Regions from separate parts of the Homo sapiens genome. Here region 2 is linked to region 1. The links are contacts of gene promoters, found by promoter capture Hi-C in blood cells and fetal thymus (Javierre and others, 2016). All regions are on one chromosome and are shown on one strand. The core of a region is centred on a gene start or on the middle of the fragment in contact, and the rest is flanking DNA. Distances in the headings are between cores, read along the strand shown.

Evidence for each region. The method cuts DNA at HindIII sites, captures the fragments that hold promoters and counts their contacts. A CHiCAGO score of 5 or more calls a contact.
Region 2: a contact is called between a fragment that was not itself captured here and the fragment with the promoter of KCND1 in region 1, in 1 of 17 cell types (total B cells). The highest score is 5.5, in total B cells.

The regions. Positions count from the first base shown.
Region 1 is chrX:48,968,772-48,976,578 of GRCh38, reverse strand. It overlaps KCND1 (potassium voltage-gated channel subfamily D member 1), which reads left to right and starts at 4,735. Exons shown (of 6, transcript NM_004979.6): 1 at 4,735-7,428. The coding sequence starts at 6,308. GRIPAP1 (GRIP1 associated protein 1) reads left to right here. Exons shown (of 26, transcript NM_020137.5): 23 at 216-338; 24 at 468-561; 25 at 1,270-1,424; 26 at 2,294-2,856. The coding sequence ends at 2,386. The HindIII fragment of the contact is 6,364 bases long and covers 4,288-7,807 here.
Region 2 is chrX:49,023,179-49,030,232 of GRCh38, reverse strand. It overlaps TFE3 (transcription factor binding to IGHM enhancer 3), which reads left to right. Exons shown (of 10, transcript NM_006521.6): 10 at 1-1,507. The coding sequence ends at 75. Among named protein-coding and RNA genes, the nearest start is that of TFE3, 17 kb to the left of the region's middle. The HindIII fragment of the contact is 721 bases long and covers 1,196-1,916 here.

The sequences.
Region 1 (7,807 bases), core at 3,486-5,985:
CTCTCCACAAGGCTCTGATGTGGTTACTCTCTACCCCCATTTAGGCAGAGGAGAAAACAGAGTCTGAGGGTACCAAGATGGGCCAACAGTCCCAGCTTCAGGGCCCATGTTCTCTCACCCACCTCTGGCCTGGTTCTCCTCCCCAGTCCCTGACACCTGTCTGGGGTCGGTGGTGCTGAGCCCGGGGCTGGCCTCTCCCCTTCTCTTTCCTGCAGTCCTTATCCAGCAGCCCTCAAGCCCAGCCCCCTCGGCCAGCAGAGCTGTCAGATGAGGAAGTGGCTGAGCTCTTTCAGCGGCTGGCAGAGACACAGCAGGAGAAATGGATGCTGGAGGAGAAGGTGCTGCCTGCCTGCCTGCCTGCCCATCCCCACTTGAAGTGCCCTTGTGGGTGTGGGGTCTGCCCGGGCCCGCCTCATGTGTGAACATGTACAGTAGAGGGGTCTCAGGTGGGCTGGGCCATCTTGCAGGTGAAGCACCTGGAAGTGAGCAGTGCTTCCATGGCAGAGGACCTCTGCCGGAAGAGCGCCATCATTGAGACCTACGTCATGGACAGCCGGATCGGTCAGTGTCCCCTCCCCGGCCCTCAGCCCTGGTCCAGCCTTCACCTGGCCCTCCCTCTCCATTCTGTGCTGCGGCTTCTCTCCTCTCCTCTCGGAACTCAGCGAAGCTACTGACAAGACCATGGCCTGTGGAGGGGAGAACAGGAAAGCACTGTCTCTTGATCTCGCCTCCTCCCTCTTCTCTCTTTCTCTGTCATCTCTCCACTCTCCATTCTCCATTGTGTCTCTCTGTCCACTTTCTCCTTTCCTCTCCCTGTGCCTCATCTTCCTCTCCTCTCTCTCTCCCTTCTCTCTTCTCCGTTTCTCTTTTTCACCCCACTCCTTCATCTTGTCTCGCTGTCTATATTGTTTTCCTTCTCTGTATCTTCATTGCTTTTGCTTTCTTTCAAACTTTCTCCTTCACAGATTTTTCTTTATTAATCAGAATCATACTGACCAACATGTGCTGAGGACTTTCTGTGTGCTCTGTGCTTCACATACAGTCATGTGCATCTTTCCAGTTCCACAAGTTAGTTATCCTCATTTCTCGGGGCCATAGAGCTAGTGAGTGACAGAGCTAGGTTTTGTATGTCAAAGCCTCTGTCCTACATGACATGGCTTTTCCTGCTGCCTTCTCCCCTGGTATTCGTCTCCCTCTTTTCTCCTCTGGCTCTGCCTGGCTCTCCTCTGGCTCTGCCGAGGGGGTGGTTTTCAGCCTGGGCCCTTGCAGATGTGTCTGTGGCAGCAGGCCACACAGACCGCAGCGGGCTGGGCAGCGTCCTGAGAGACCTAGTGAAGCCAGGTGACGAGAACCTTCGGGAGATGAACAAGAAGCTGCAGAACATGCTGGAGGAGCAGCTCACCAAGAATATGCACTTGCACAAGGCAAGTGTGGCCTGCCAGCCTACCCATCTGTTCACCCAGCCACCTGCCTACCCAGCCACATAGCCCCTGGGTCATCTGCCAGTCCCCTTGCCCACCCACCCAGCCTGTCCTCCCAGCTATCCTCCTACCCACTCATCAACTACTCCATCATGCTCTCATCTTCCACCCTCTCATCAACTTATTATCCATTCATTCCTTCCATGTACCCGCTCATCCATTTATCTACACATTCACCCAACCATTTGCCCATCTGTCCATCTACCCAATCTACTACTTACTTATCTCATTGTCTACCCCATGTCCTGCCACCCATTTCTTGACATATCATTCTCTTATCTACTCATCAATTGCCCCTTGTGTTACCTTTCACCCACCCAGTTACCTGCCTGCCCACCTGTTGATCTCCATCTGTCCTCTGGACAATTCATTCGTCCACCAATTTGTCTACCATAGATCCCCCATGCCCATGGGTCCACACACACATCTTTCTGCCCAAACTGCCACCCAAGGACTTTCCCCATCTCTGAGAGTTAGAAAGGGGTCAGACCCAGCTCCTGCCTTTGAGAAGCAAGCTCACACTTAGAAGAGCAGGTGGCCAGAGTGGTGGTGTATCCTGCAGCAGCACCATGCCACAGGAGGCATCCCACTCCCATTATCTGTAGCTCCCCACCCATCCTCATGACTTTTCTGAGCCCTGCCCACTGTTGGGGGTGCTGTGAGCTTCTCCAAGTACCTTCTCATCCCAGGCCAGACACAGCTGAGCATTGATTAATGAAAGGGTGTGAGGGAAATCACAGATGATACCCTACGTTTGGCAAGGGAGCAGCCTGTCCCCTTCTCTGGCCCCTGATGGTTCATTTGTTTCTTAGGATATGGAAGTTCTGTCCCAGGAAATTGTGCGGCTCAGCAAGGAGTGCGTGGGGCCTCCTGACCCAGACCTAGAGCCAGGAGAAACCAGCTAAAGACCTGCAGGCTGCACCCACCTCCTCCCCTTCCTACCCCCTAGGATGCTATTCCCTTGGGCTGTGGTGGAAAAATGAGGGCTGGAGCCAAAATCAAATAGCTTGGGAGACTGGACATTAAAGGGGCTAGAGGCCTGATGGTTAGTGTTAATGATCCTGTCTTAGGGCAGAGGCCACCAGGGAGTGGGGATCCTGAGGGAAGGGGCAGGGATTTCTCCTTCTTCTTGGTCCTGGCTCCCAAGGGCTTCTGTCTTCATCTCTGCATGAGCTCTCCTTCCCAGAGACCAACTCTTTTTATTTTATTTTATTTTATTTTTTAATTTATGTCTGGAGCCTGGCTACTCTGCATTTGGGATTGGGGATGCTGGGTGGGTGTGTGGTCCATGTTCAGCGTTCTAGCAACACGTGTGTGTGTGTGTGTGTAAAGGCTATGCAGCCAAAATACCATCTGGCCAGACGGGCCCACCCACTGACTGTCTCGTCTCGTTCTTTTCAACCAGGAGGAATATGCTGGGGGCGGGGAGGTTTACACCATTGGAATAGGGAGAGAGGTCTCTGGCTGCAACGTTACTCTCTTTTCCCCACCCTCATCCAGCCTGTCTCCATTTACTGCTGACCAGCCCCTCAAACTGAGTGGAGCTGAAATACCTGCAGATATGTACATGGGTAGACATGTATGGGATTGTGGGTATAGATGAGTAGACAGATGGGAGGATGGATAAGTGGTTGGATGGACCGATGGATGTATAAGTGAACGGTTGCATGGACTGATGATGGATAGATTGGGAAATAAATGGATGGATGGATAGGTGGTTAGATGAATAAATGGGTAGATAGATTGGTAGGTGGATAGAGGATGGATAGTAGAGATGTAAATGGACAGATGGATAATAGGTCTATGGACAAATGGGTGGATGATTTAGGTAGACAGGTGGATGGATGGGTTTATGGACAGGTTAGGAGTAAATGGACCAATGGTTGGGGGAATGGATGGATGGGTAGATGAGCTAATGAATGGGAAGGGTAAAGAGTGGGAGAAGAAATGACAAGTGGAGCTATGTATGGACAGAGATGGGCAGAGGATGTCACCCTGCATGTGTTCCGGGTGGGAAGAGATGGGCAGAGGATGGATACATACAGATAGATTGGCAAACAGCCAAATGGGGTGAACTTACAAATGGATGAATGAGTGGGTGGGTAGATTAACGACTAAGTGGACGGGTGGGTGGAGGGATGGATAGAGGAATTGATTGTGTGGGTGGGAGAATGGGTGGATGGGTAGGTGGAGGAATGGATGTAGAAATGGACAAATCAGGAGTGTGCCAAATGGGCAATTGGAAGTTTACACGGGTGGGTAAATCTTGGGTGAAAGGCTAGGCCTGGCCCTGCATTACAGTGCCCCTGTCATCACACTCCTTTAATTAAGATTAAGCATCCCTGGTGTGAGCTGTGTCCAGTGCTATCACCTTTCACATCATGTAATGCTCCAAATGACGCTATCAAGTTGGGATAAGTCTCTCCATCTGACAACTGAGGAAACAATGCAAGTCACTTGCTCAAGGATGCAGCAAGTCAGTGGCAAAGCTGGGGTTTGAACCCACCCATAGCCAGCCAGAGGCATTCCATAATCAGTGCTCCTGCCATCCAGAAGCAGAGCCCTCTAGCGGAGGAGGTGTGATTTGAGGCCACTGGATATGGACAGATAAGAGAGACTACCCCCTCGGAGTGGGGCCTGCCTGAGATGGTAGGGGGGTGGGACCTGGATTGTCCCCCTCTACATTCCCTTTACCCTCATTTCATATCTAAAAACAGGAAGTCCCGTGCTCCAATCCCACAGCCGAAGTCTTAGAGCTGGGGCTGTAACCCATGCTGCGCCCCTCAAGGGGGCGGCTTCGGAAGCTTGGCCATCTAGAGAAACACTCCCCAGCAATTACCCCCGACTCCTGGCTCTCCTGCCTTTCCACAGTCTGGGGGGCAGGGAGGGGACAGCGCTGCATCATTCCCTGTGGCACTCCGCTCTGGGGCCATTAACAGACGCCTTCCCATCGATCGGATCTGCTAAGTGCTGCTGATTCAGGCGAGTGGGGGTGGGGGCCCCTGGGGGCAGAGCGGGTAGGAGCTGGGCAGGAAGAGAGGGGAGTCCAGGAAGGAGGTGGAGAGAATTGGCGAAGTTCCCTGCCACCCCCATTTTCCAGATGACGCGACTGAGGCCCAACCAGCTTTGTAGGAGGCGGAGTCTCCCCAGGGTCCCTCTCTGGCTGTCCTAGGGGAGGGGGCTCAGGGAGCCACGAGGCCCCTCCCTGCCTCTCCATCTCCCGGCAAGCTCAGAGGGGCGGGGAGAGAGAGCCAGAGGAGGAGGAGAACTCAGGCAGCTCTGCAGAGGGGGCCAGGAGCTCGGGTGTTTGGTACCCCCAGCCCCACCGCTGTTGCTGCTCCTGCAGCGGGGACACAGGTGAGGACGCCCCGAGAGAGAGGGGGAGGGGGACCACCACTAGCGCTGTCCTCATCCTTCCCTGGTCCAGCCCCCACGCCCTAACCCATCCTGGGATAGTCCCCAGGGGTCCCACTGGACCTTGCCCTTCCCAGGCCTCCTTCCAGGGACCCCGCACCCTCCCCCTGCCTATGCCACCTTCTCTCCTATGCCTGGCTGTGGTTGCTTCTCTTCCTCCTGCTGCCGCTGCTGCTACTGCCACTGCCCAGTACACACCGCCAGCCCCTCGGGGTGTGGTTTCCCCAGACCTGCCCCCAACGGTGGGACCCAGCCTTCTCCCGGCGTCTCCTGCCAGCTTCCTGCAAAGCCCAGGAGCCCCCCTCCCTGGAGACACACCCAACTCCCTTTCAACACCCCACCCCCCTCTTAATCCCATTTTGGGGTTAACCCCCTTCCTCTTATTTAGTCTTCATAGATCCCCTGGGTGCTCTGGGATTGTGCCCAACTTCCTAACATTTGAGTCCCGGCCCTTGGAATTCCCCAGGCCCCTTTTTCCTCCCTGTAGAACTCCTGAGAGTGTCGACCAGGCTTTGTTGGCCCGTCTAGATACCCACCTCCCCCAGATAACTCTCAGCCTCTCAAAAAATAACCCAGCCCCCTGTCTACCCCTTTAGATAACCCCTTCCCCTCTCCAGCCCTACTAGGAGGCTCTGGCCTCTCCTTTCTTCCCCAGAACTCCTGTAGAGTATAGACACCCCCCCGGGCTATTCTTGGCAACTCTAGGCAGTCCCAAGACACCTTTCAGCCTCTTTACAACCTCCTGGATCCACAGCCACCCCTCAAGATGCACCAGCTCCCTTTCCAGATCCATGAGGGGGGTCTAACCCTCTTATGCTTCCCCTAGAAGTCTTGAGGGTGTGGACAACCCTCCTCACCTGTCTCAGCCCCTCTAGAACCCCCACTTCCAGGCACTCTCAGTCTCTTTCAAGCACCTCTGGTCCCATTTCTACCCCTCTGGATGCCCCAGTCTCCTCTCCACCACTGCAAAGGAATTCCAGGCTCTTCTGCCTTCCCTGAGACTCTTGAGAGTGCAGAGAATTCCCCACGTGTTTCTTGGCCCCTCTAGACGCCCCCAGACACCTCTCAGGCACAGGCTGACTCCTTTAGAATCATCTCAGTCTCTCTAAACCCTCCCTCAGCTCCTTCTTGGCCCCATCCCCACACCCCTTTTCTGCTCTTCTCCATGTCCCCAAGGCCCTTCTCAGTCCCTCAGAACATTGCCCAGGCCCCTCCTAGGTTCTGTAAATGTCCCCCAGACTCCTTCCCATCTCTTTAGTTCTTCCTCCTGGTTCCTCTTGGCCTCTCTAGACACCCCCAGTTTCCTTGTTTGGGTGGCTCAAGGTGTCTCCAAGCCCCCACCATCCTGGAGACAGCCACATTCTCCTAAACGCCACCCTCACTAAGTCTCCCTGGGCTTGGGGAGTGGCACGATGGCGGCAGGCCTGGCCACGTGGCTGCCTTTTGCTCGGGCAGCAGCAGTGGGCTGGCTGCCCCTGGCCCAGCAACCCCTGCCCCCGGCACCGGGGGTGAAGGCATCTCGAGGAGATGAGGTTCTGGTGGTGAACGTGAGCGGACGGCGCTTTGAGACTTGGAAGAATACGCTGGACCGCTACCCAGACACCTTGCTGGGCAGCTCGGAGAAGGAATTCTTCTACGATGCTGACTCAGGCGAGTACTTCTTCGATCGCGACCCTGACATGTTCCGCCATGTGCTGAACTTCTACCGAACGGGGCGGCTGCATTGCCCACGGCAGGAGTGCATCCAGGCCTTCGACGAAGAGCTGGCTTTCTACGGCCTGGTTCCCGAGCTAGTCGGTGACTGCTGCCTTGAAGAGTATCGGGACCGAAAGAAGGAGAATGCCGAGCGCCTGGCAGAGGATGAGGAGGCAGAGCAGGCCGGGGACGGCCCAGCCCTGCCAGCAGGCAGCTCCCTGCGGCAGCGGCTCTGGCGGGCCTTCGAGAATCCACACACGAGCACCGCAGCCCTCGTTTTCTACTATGTGACCGGCTTCTTCATCGCCGTGTCGGTCATCGCCAATGTGGTGGAGACCATCCCATGCCGCGGCTCTGCACGCAGGTCCTCAAGGGAGCAGCCCTGTGGCGAACGCTTCCCACAGGCCTTTTTCTGCATGGACACAGCCTGTGTACTCATATTCACAGGTGAATACCTCCTGCGGCTGTTTGCCGCCCCCAGCCGTTGCCGCTTCCTGCGGAGTGTCATGAGCCTCATCGACGTGGTGGCCATCCTGCCCTACTACATTGGGCTTTTGGTGCCCAAGAACGACGATGTCTCTGGCGCCTTTGTCACCCTGCGTGTGTTCCGGGTGTTTCGCATCTTCAAGTTCTCCAGGCACTCACAGGGCTTGAGGATTCTGGGCTACACACTCAAGAGCTGTGCCTCTGAGCTGGGCTTTCTCCTCTTTTCCCTAACCATGGCCATCATCATCTTTGCCACTGTCATGTTTTATGCTGAGAAGGGCACAAACAAGACCAACTTTACAAGCATCCCTGCGGCCTTCTGGTATACCATTGTCACCATGACCACGCTTGGGTGAGTGTGGACTCTGCGTTGGGGGCTGCCCGATTACACTCACCCTTTCTGTAAAATTAGGAAGTTTAAAGGAATGATCTCTTTCTTTCTTTCTTTTTAAATGGAGTCTTACTCTGTCGCCCAGGCTGGAGTACAGTGGCAAGATCTCAGCTCACTACAACCTCTGCTTCCTGGGTTCAAGTGATTCTCCAGCCTCAGACTCCCAAGTAGCTGGGATTACAGGTACACGCCACCATGCCCAGCTAATTTTTGTATTTTTAGTAGAGACGGGGTTTCACCGCGTTGGCCAGGCTGGTCTCAAACTCCTGACCTCAGGTGATCCGCCCGCCTTGGCCGCCCAAAGTGCCGGGATTACAGGTGTGAGCCACCGCGCCTGGCC
Region 2 (7,054 bases), core at 307-2,806, 57 kb before region 1:
CTCTCTTCAGTGTCCCCTGCTGTCTCCAAGGCCAGCAGCCGCCGCAGCAGCTTCAGCATGGAAGAGGAGTCCTGATCAGGCCTCACCCCTCCCCTGGGACTTTCCCACCCAGGAAAGGAGGACCAGTCAGGATGAGGCCCCGCCTTTTCCCCCACCCTCCCATGAGACTGCCCTGCCCAGGTATCCTGGGGGAAGAGGAGATGTGATCAGGCCCCACCCCTGTAATCAGGCAAGGAGGAGGAGTCAGATGAGGCCCTGCACCTTCCCCAAAGGAACCGCCCAGTGCAGGTATTTCAGAAGGAGAAGGCTGGAGAAGGACATGAGATCAGGGCCTGCCCCCTGGGGATCACAGCCTCACCCCTGCCCCTGTGGGACTCATCCTTGCCCAGGTGAGGGAAGGAGACAGGATGAGGTCTCGACCCTGTCCCCTAGGGACTGTCCTAGCCAGGTCTCCTGGGAAAGGGAGATGTCAGGATGTTGCTCCATCCTTTGTCTTGGAACCACCAGTCTAGTCCGTCCTGGCACAGAAGAGGAGTCAAGTAATGGAGGTCCCAGCCCTGGGGGTTTAAGCTCTGCCCCTTCCCCATGAACCCTGCCCTGCTCTGCCCAGGCAAGGAACAGAAGTGAGGATGAGACCCAGCCCCTTCCCCTGGGAACTCTCCTGGCCTTCTAGGAATGGAGGAGCCAGGCCCCACCCCTTCCCTATAGGAACAGCCCAGCACAGGTATTTCAGGTGTGAAAGAATCAGTAGGACCAGGCCACCGCTAGTGCTTGTGGAGATCACAGCCCCACCCTTGTCCCTCAGCAACATCCCATCTAAGCATTCCACACTGCAGGGAGGAGTGGTACTTAAGCTCCCCTGCCTTAACCTGGGACCAACCTGACCTAACCTAGGAGGGCTCTGAGCCAACCTTGCTCTTGGGGAAGGGGACAGATTATGAAATTTCATGGATGAATTTTCCAGACCTATATCTGGAGTGAGAGGCCCCCACCCTTGGGCAGAGTCCTGCCTTCTTCCTTGAGGGGCAGTTTGGGAAGGTGATGGGTATTAGTGGGGGACTGAGTTCAGGTTACCAGAACCAGTACCTCAGTATTCTTTTTCAACATGTAGGGCAAGAGGATGAAGGAAGGGGCTATCCTGGGACCTCCCCAGCCCAGGAAAAACTGGAAGCCTTCCCCCAGCAAGGCAGAAGCTTGGAGGAGGGTTGTAAAAGCATATTGTACCCCCTCATTTGTTTATCTGATTTTTTTATTGCTCCGCATACTGAGAATCTAGGCCACCCCAACCTCTGTTCCCCACCCAGTTCTTCATTTGGAGGAATCACCCCATTTCAGAGTTATCAAGAGACACTCCCCCCTCCATTCCCACCCCTCATACCTACACCCAAGGTTGTCAGCTTTGGATTGCTGGGGCCAGGCCCCATGGAGGGTATACTGAGGGGTCTATAGGTTTGTGATTAAAATAATAAAAGCTAGGCGTGTTTGATGCGCTTTTAACTTTGGCAAAGAGTCTCCTGTCCTTGTTTTACACTGTGCAGTGAACATAGCCCATGCAGGCCAAGAGGGATAAAAGTCCTTGGGAGAAACAGATTCCAGAAGGATGGATAAAAGAATTTAGAAAGGAAGAGGGCATGGAGGAAGACAATATGCAAACAAAAGACAGTATTTTTAAAGACCAATCACCAGGCACAATTTTAACTGCTGCAAGTGTTTCATCTAATTTATTTCTCTAAAGGGATGTTAGTCAGAACATGCTGCTTCTTACTTCCATTTGGTCTTTGAAGAAGCTGAGGAATAGAATTGAACTGTTCTGAAGATATGCAAGCCTGTAAATGGGTGAGGCGGTAAAACAGTAAAGTCAGGTGAGTGAGGGCTCGATTGAAAAATGCCACTGAGGGCAGAGGGGGAAAGAAGCTTTTCTTGCAAATCCACTTTTGAAACTGATAAAGAAGTCTATGAGGATATTTCCTGGCAGACAACAGAGGTATTTAAGATGGTGGAAAGGACAAAGACAAATATCTGAAAGGCAGAGGAACAAGCAACCAACTGAATTTTGGAACAGATGTTGAGATTTTGGGAGAATTTAAATGAACACAAGTATCTTCTTGAAGGCTGGGAAAAAGTATTTTCCCGCAATTTCTCAACCAGACACTGACTCCTAGAACAAGCATCAGGCCTGGTCCCTCCATTTCCCCCACCAGACTGTGACCTCTGAGGGCTGGAACTGGGCTTGGTCACCGTGACTACCCTAGACTGTGACCACCATACTTGTTATCTCTTTTTTTTTTTTTTGAGACAATCTCGCCCTGTCACCCAGGCTGGAGTGCAGTGGCATGATCTCGGCTCACTGCAACCTCTGCCTCCCAGGTTCAGGTAATTATCTTGTCTCAACCTCTCTAGTTGCGATTACAGGCATCTGCCACCACACCCAGCTAATTTTTTGTGTTTTTAGTAGAGACGGGGTTTCACCATGATGGCCAGGCTGGTTTCGAACTCCTGACCTCAAGTGATCTGCCTGCCTCGGCCTCCCAAAGTGCTGGGATTAGAGGTGTAAGCCACCACACCCGACCCTTGCTAGCTCTTTCTAACCTATCACACTGCTACCCCTCCAAGCCTGGTTGCTGAATCTCTGTAACCAGACTGATGGCTCCCTAATAACCTTTATTTTTTCTCCTCAACTTTGCTGTACTCTCTCTCTTTTTTTTTTTTTTTTTTTTTTGAAACGGAGTCTCACTCTATTGCCCAGACTGGAGTGCAGTGGCATGATCTCTGCTAACTGCAACCTCTGCCTCCCAGGTTCAAGCGATTCACGTGCCTCAGCCTCCCAAGTACCTGGGATTACAGACGCGCAACCACGCCCAGCTAATTTTTGTATTTTTAGTAGAGACAGGGTCTCACCATGTTGCCCAGGCTAGTCTCAAACTCCTGGCCTCAAGTGATATACCTGCCGTGGCCTCCCAAAGTGGGATTACAGGCATAAACCACCATACCTGGCCCTATACTCTCTTATTTTATTTTATTTTATTTTATTTTATTTATTTATTTATTTATTTTGAAACAGGGTTTCCCTCTGTCACCCAGGCTGGGGTGCAATGGCGCGATCTCAGCTCACTGCAACCTCCGCCTCCCGGGTTCAAGCGATTCTCCTGCCTCAGCCTCCTGAGTACCTGGGATTACAGGCATGTGCCACCACACCTGGCAAATTTTAGGTACTTTTCTTTTTTTTTATATGGAGTCTCGCTCTTTTGCCCAAGCTGGAGTGCAGTGGCACGGTCTCGGCTCACTGCAACCTCCACCTCCCAGGCTCAAGCAATTCTCCTGCCTCAGCCTCCCGAGTAGCTGGGATTACAGGCACCTGTCACCGCGCCTGGCTAATTTTTGTATTTTTATTAGAGACAGGATTTCACCATGTTGGTCAGGCTGGTCTCAAACTCCTGACCTCGTGATCGCCCACTTCGGCCTCCCAGAGTGCTGGAATTACAGGGGTGAGCTACTGTGCCCGGCCTTTTTTTTTTTTTTTTAAAGACAGAGTCTCGCTCTGTCGTCCAGGCTGGAGTGCAATGGTGCGATCTCGGCTCACTGCAACCTCTGCCTCCCAGGTTCAAGTGATTCTCCTGCCTCAGCCTTGCGAGTAGCTGGGATTACAGACATGTGCCACTACTGCTCAGCTAATTTTTGTATTTTTAGTAGAGATGGGGTTTCACCATGTTGGCCAGGCTGGTCTTGAACTCCTGACTTCAAATGATCCGCCTGCCTTGGCCTCCCAAATTGCTGGGATTACAGACATGAGCCACGGCCCCTGGCCCAATCTTTTGTACTTTTAGCAGAGACCAAGGTTTCACCATGTTGGTCAGGCTGGTCTCGCATTCGTGACCTCAGATGATTCGCCCGCCTCGGCCTCCCAAATTGTTGGGATTACAGGCATGAGCCACCGTGCCTGGCCTCTTCTTTATTTTTTAAACGTAACATGTAATGCCCAGAGGTTTTTTTTTGGGGGGGGAAGGGGGTACAGGGTCTCACTGTCACCCAGACTGGAGTGCAGTGGCATGATCTTGGCTCACCACAACTTCCAACTCCCAGGTTCAAGCGATTCTCCTGCCTCAGCCTCCCGAGTAGCTGGGATTACAGACACATGCCACTACTGCCCGGCTAATTTTTGTATTTTTAGTAGAGATGGGTTTTCACCATGTTGGCCAGGCTGGTTTTGAACTCCTGATCTCAAATGATCCAACTGCCTCGGCCTCCCAAAGTGCTGGGATTACAGGTGTGAGCCACTGCACCTGGCCTCCCAGAGGTGTGTTTTTTTGTTTTTGTTTTTGTTTTTGTTTGAGGCGAAGTCTCACTCTGTCGCCCAGGCTGGAGTGCAATGGTGGGATCTTGGCTCATTGCAACCTCCGGCTCCTGGGTTCAAGCCATTCTCCTGCCCTAGCCTCCCAAGTAGCTGGGACTACAGGCGCACACCACCACGCCCGGCTAATTTTTTTGTATTTTTAGTAGAGATGGGGTTTCACCACGTTAGCCAGGATGGTCTTGATCTCCTGACCTCGTGATCCACCCGCCTCAGCCTCCCAAAGTGCTGGGATTACAGGCGTGAGCCACCGTACCTGGCCTCCCAGAGGTTTTTTAACAGTTTTTCTGAAATAATTTTAGATTTACAGAAGAGTTGCATCACCATTAGTGAGCTTTCATACCTGTCACCCACCTCCCCCTAATGTTAACATTCTACGTAACCATGGCACATTTATCAGTGCTAAGAAAATAACATTGGGCCGGGCGTGGCGGCTCACGCCTGTAATCCCAGCACTTTGGCAGGCTGAGGCAGGCGGATCACAAGGTCAGGAGATCGAAACCGTCCTGGCTAACACGGTGAAACCCCGTCTCTACTAAAAATATAAAAAATTAGCTGGGTGTGGTGGCGAGCACCTGTAGTCCCAGCTACTCGGGAGGCTAAGGCAGGAGAATGGCATGAACCCAGGAGGCTGGCAGTGAGCCGAGATTGCGCCACTGCACTCCAGCCTGGGCGATAGAGCGAGACTCCATCTCAAAAAAAATAAAAAATAAAAAAAAAAATAAGATTGGTAGAGTACTATTAACTCAACTTCAGACTTTATTTGGATTTCACTGGCTTTTCCACTAACGTCTTTTCTGTGCTAGGATCCAAGTAAGTATGCCGTACTACTTATTCCTGTGAAACAAATGACCACAATCTTAGTGGCTCCAAACAATACACATAAATTATCTCTCAGGTTTTGCAAGTCAGGAATCCAGGCTGGGTTCAGCTGGGTCCTCAGCTTCAGCCTCTCTCACTAAGGCACAATCGAGGAAGGAGTTGGGCAGGATTGAGGACTTCTCTGAACGTGCGACCGGGGAAGGATCTGCTCTGTGCTCCCATATTTGTTGGCAGGATCCGGTTCTCTGCAGCCTGTTGGACAGAGGGCCCCAGTTCCTTGCTGGCTGTTAGCCAGAGGTGCCCACCATCCACACCATGTGTGCCTTTCCATGCAGTGGCTCACAGCATGGTAGTTTGCTTCATCCAAGCCAGCGAGAGAAAGAGTTGGCTAGCAAAACAGAGGTCACATCTCTTGTGATCTAATTATGGAAGTGATATCCCCTCAAGGTTGAGGCATTCTGTTACTTGCAAAGAAGTTACTAAAGGGGAGGGGATTACACAAGACCAAGAATATAGCAGGCAGGGAGCACTGGTTGAGGGCATCTCAGAAGGCACCTACCATAGATACTATGTTGTACTAAGTGGTCCTATCTTCTTGGTTTTTGCAGACGGTTTCTCAGTCTGTCTACTGAGAAGTCCTACAAATCATGCTATCCCAGAAACAATGAGCACATCTAGTGGCCAGATCTTGGTTTCTTTTTTGTTGTTGTTGTTGAGACAGAGTTTCACCCTTGTCACCCAGGCTGGAGTGCAATGGCGCAATCTTGGCTCACTGCAACCTCCGCCTCCTGGGTTCAAGCGATTCTCCTGCCTCAGCCTCCTGAGTAGCTGGGACTACAGGCGCTGCCCACCACGCCTGACTACTTTTTGTATTTTTAGTAGAGACAGGGTTTCGCCGTGTTGGCCAGGCTGGTCTTGAACTCCTGACCTCAGGTGATCTGCCCATCTTGGCCTCGCAAAGTGCTGGGATTACAGGTCTGAGCCACCGCGCCTGGCCTGGACCTTGGTTTCTAAATGCCATTCTCCAATAAAAGAAACCAGTGCTCCTGGAAAAATGGCTGATTTTCAGTCTGGGGTGGAGAGAAATACAAGATGAGCCTGGAGCATCCTGTAGTGACAGAAAGTAAGGAAATGCCTAAAACCAATGATGGAGGCTAGGCATGGTGGCTCACACCTGTAATCCCAGCACTTTGGGAGGCCAAGACGCATGGATCACCTGGGGTCAGGAGTTTCAGACCAGCCTGGCCAACATGGTGAAACCCCGTCTCTACTAAAAATACAAAAAATTAGCCGGGTGTGGTGGGGGGCACCTGTAATCCCAGCTACTCAGGAGGCTGAGGCAGGAGAATTGCTTGAACCTGGGAGGCAGAGGTTGCAGTGAGCCGAGATCATGCCATTGCACTCCAGCCTGGGCAACAAGAGCAAAACTCCATCTCAAAAAAAAAAAAAAAAAAACAAACAAACAAAAAAGCAATGATTGCAGCATGTCATAAGATACAGAAGCCAACCTGAAAGAACTCCTGGTCAGGTGCGGTGGCTCACGTCTGTAATCCCAGCACTTTGGGAGGCCAAGGTGGGCGGATCATGAGGTCAAGAGATCAAGACCATCCTGGCCAACATGGTGAAACCCCGCCTCTACTAAATATACACAAATTAGCTGGGTGTGGTGGCACGCGCCTGTAGTTCTAGCTACTCGGGAGGCTGAGGCAGGAGAATTGCTTCAACGTGGGAGGCGGAGGTTGCAGTGAGCCGAGATCTCGCCACTGCACTCCAGCCTGGCAACAGAGTGAGACTCCGTCTCGAAAAAAAAAAGAAAAACAACTCCCAATGGCCAAAGCTGGAACAATTTGAGCAAGAATAACAGAAAGGGTAATATTAGATTAT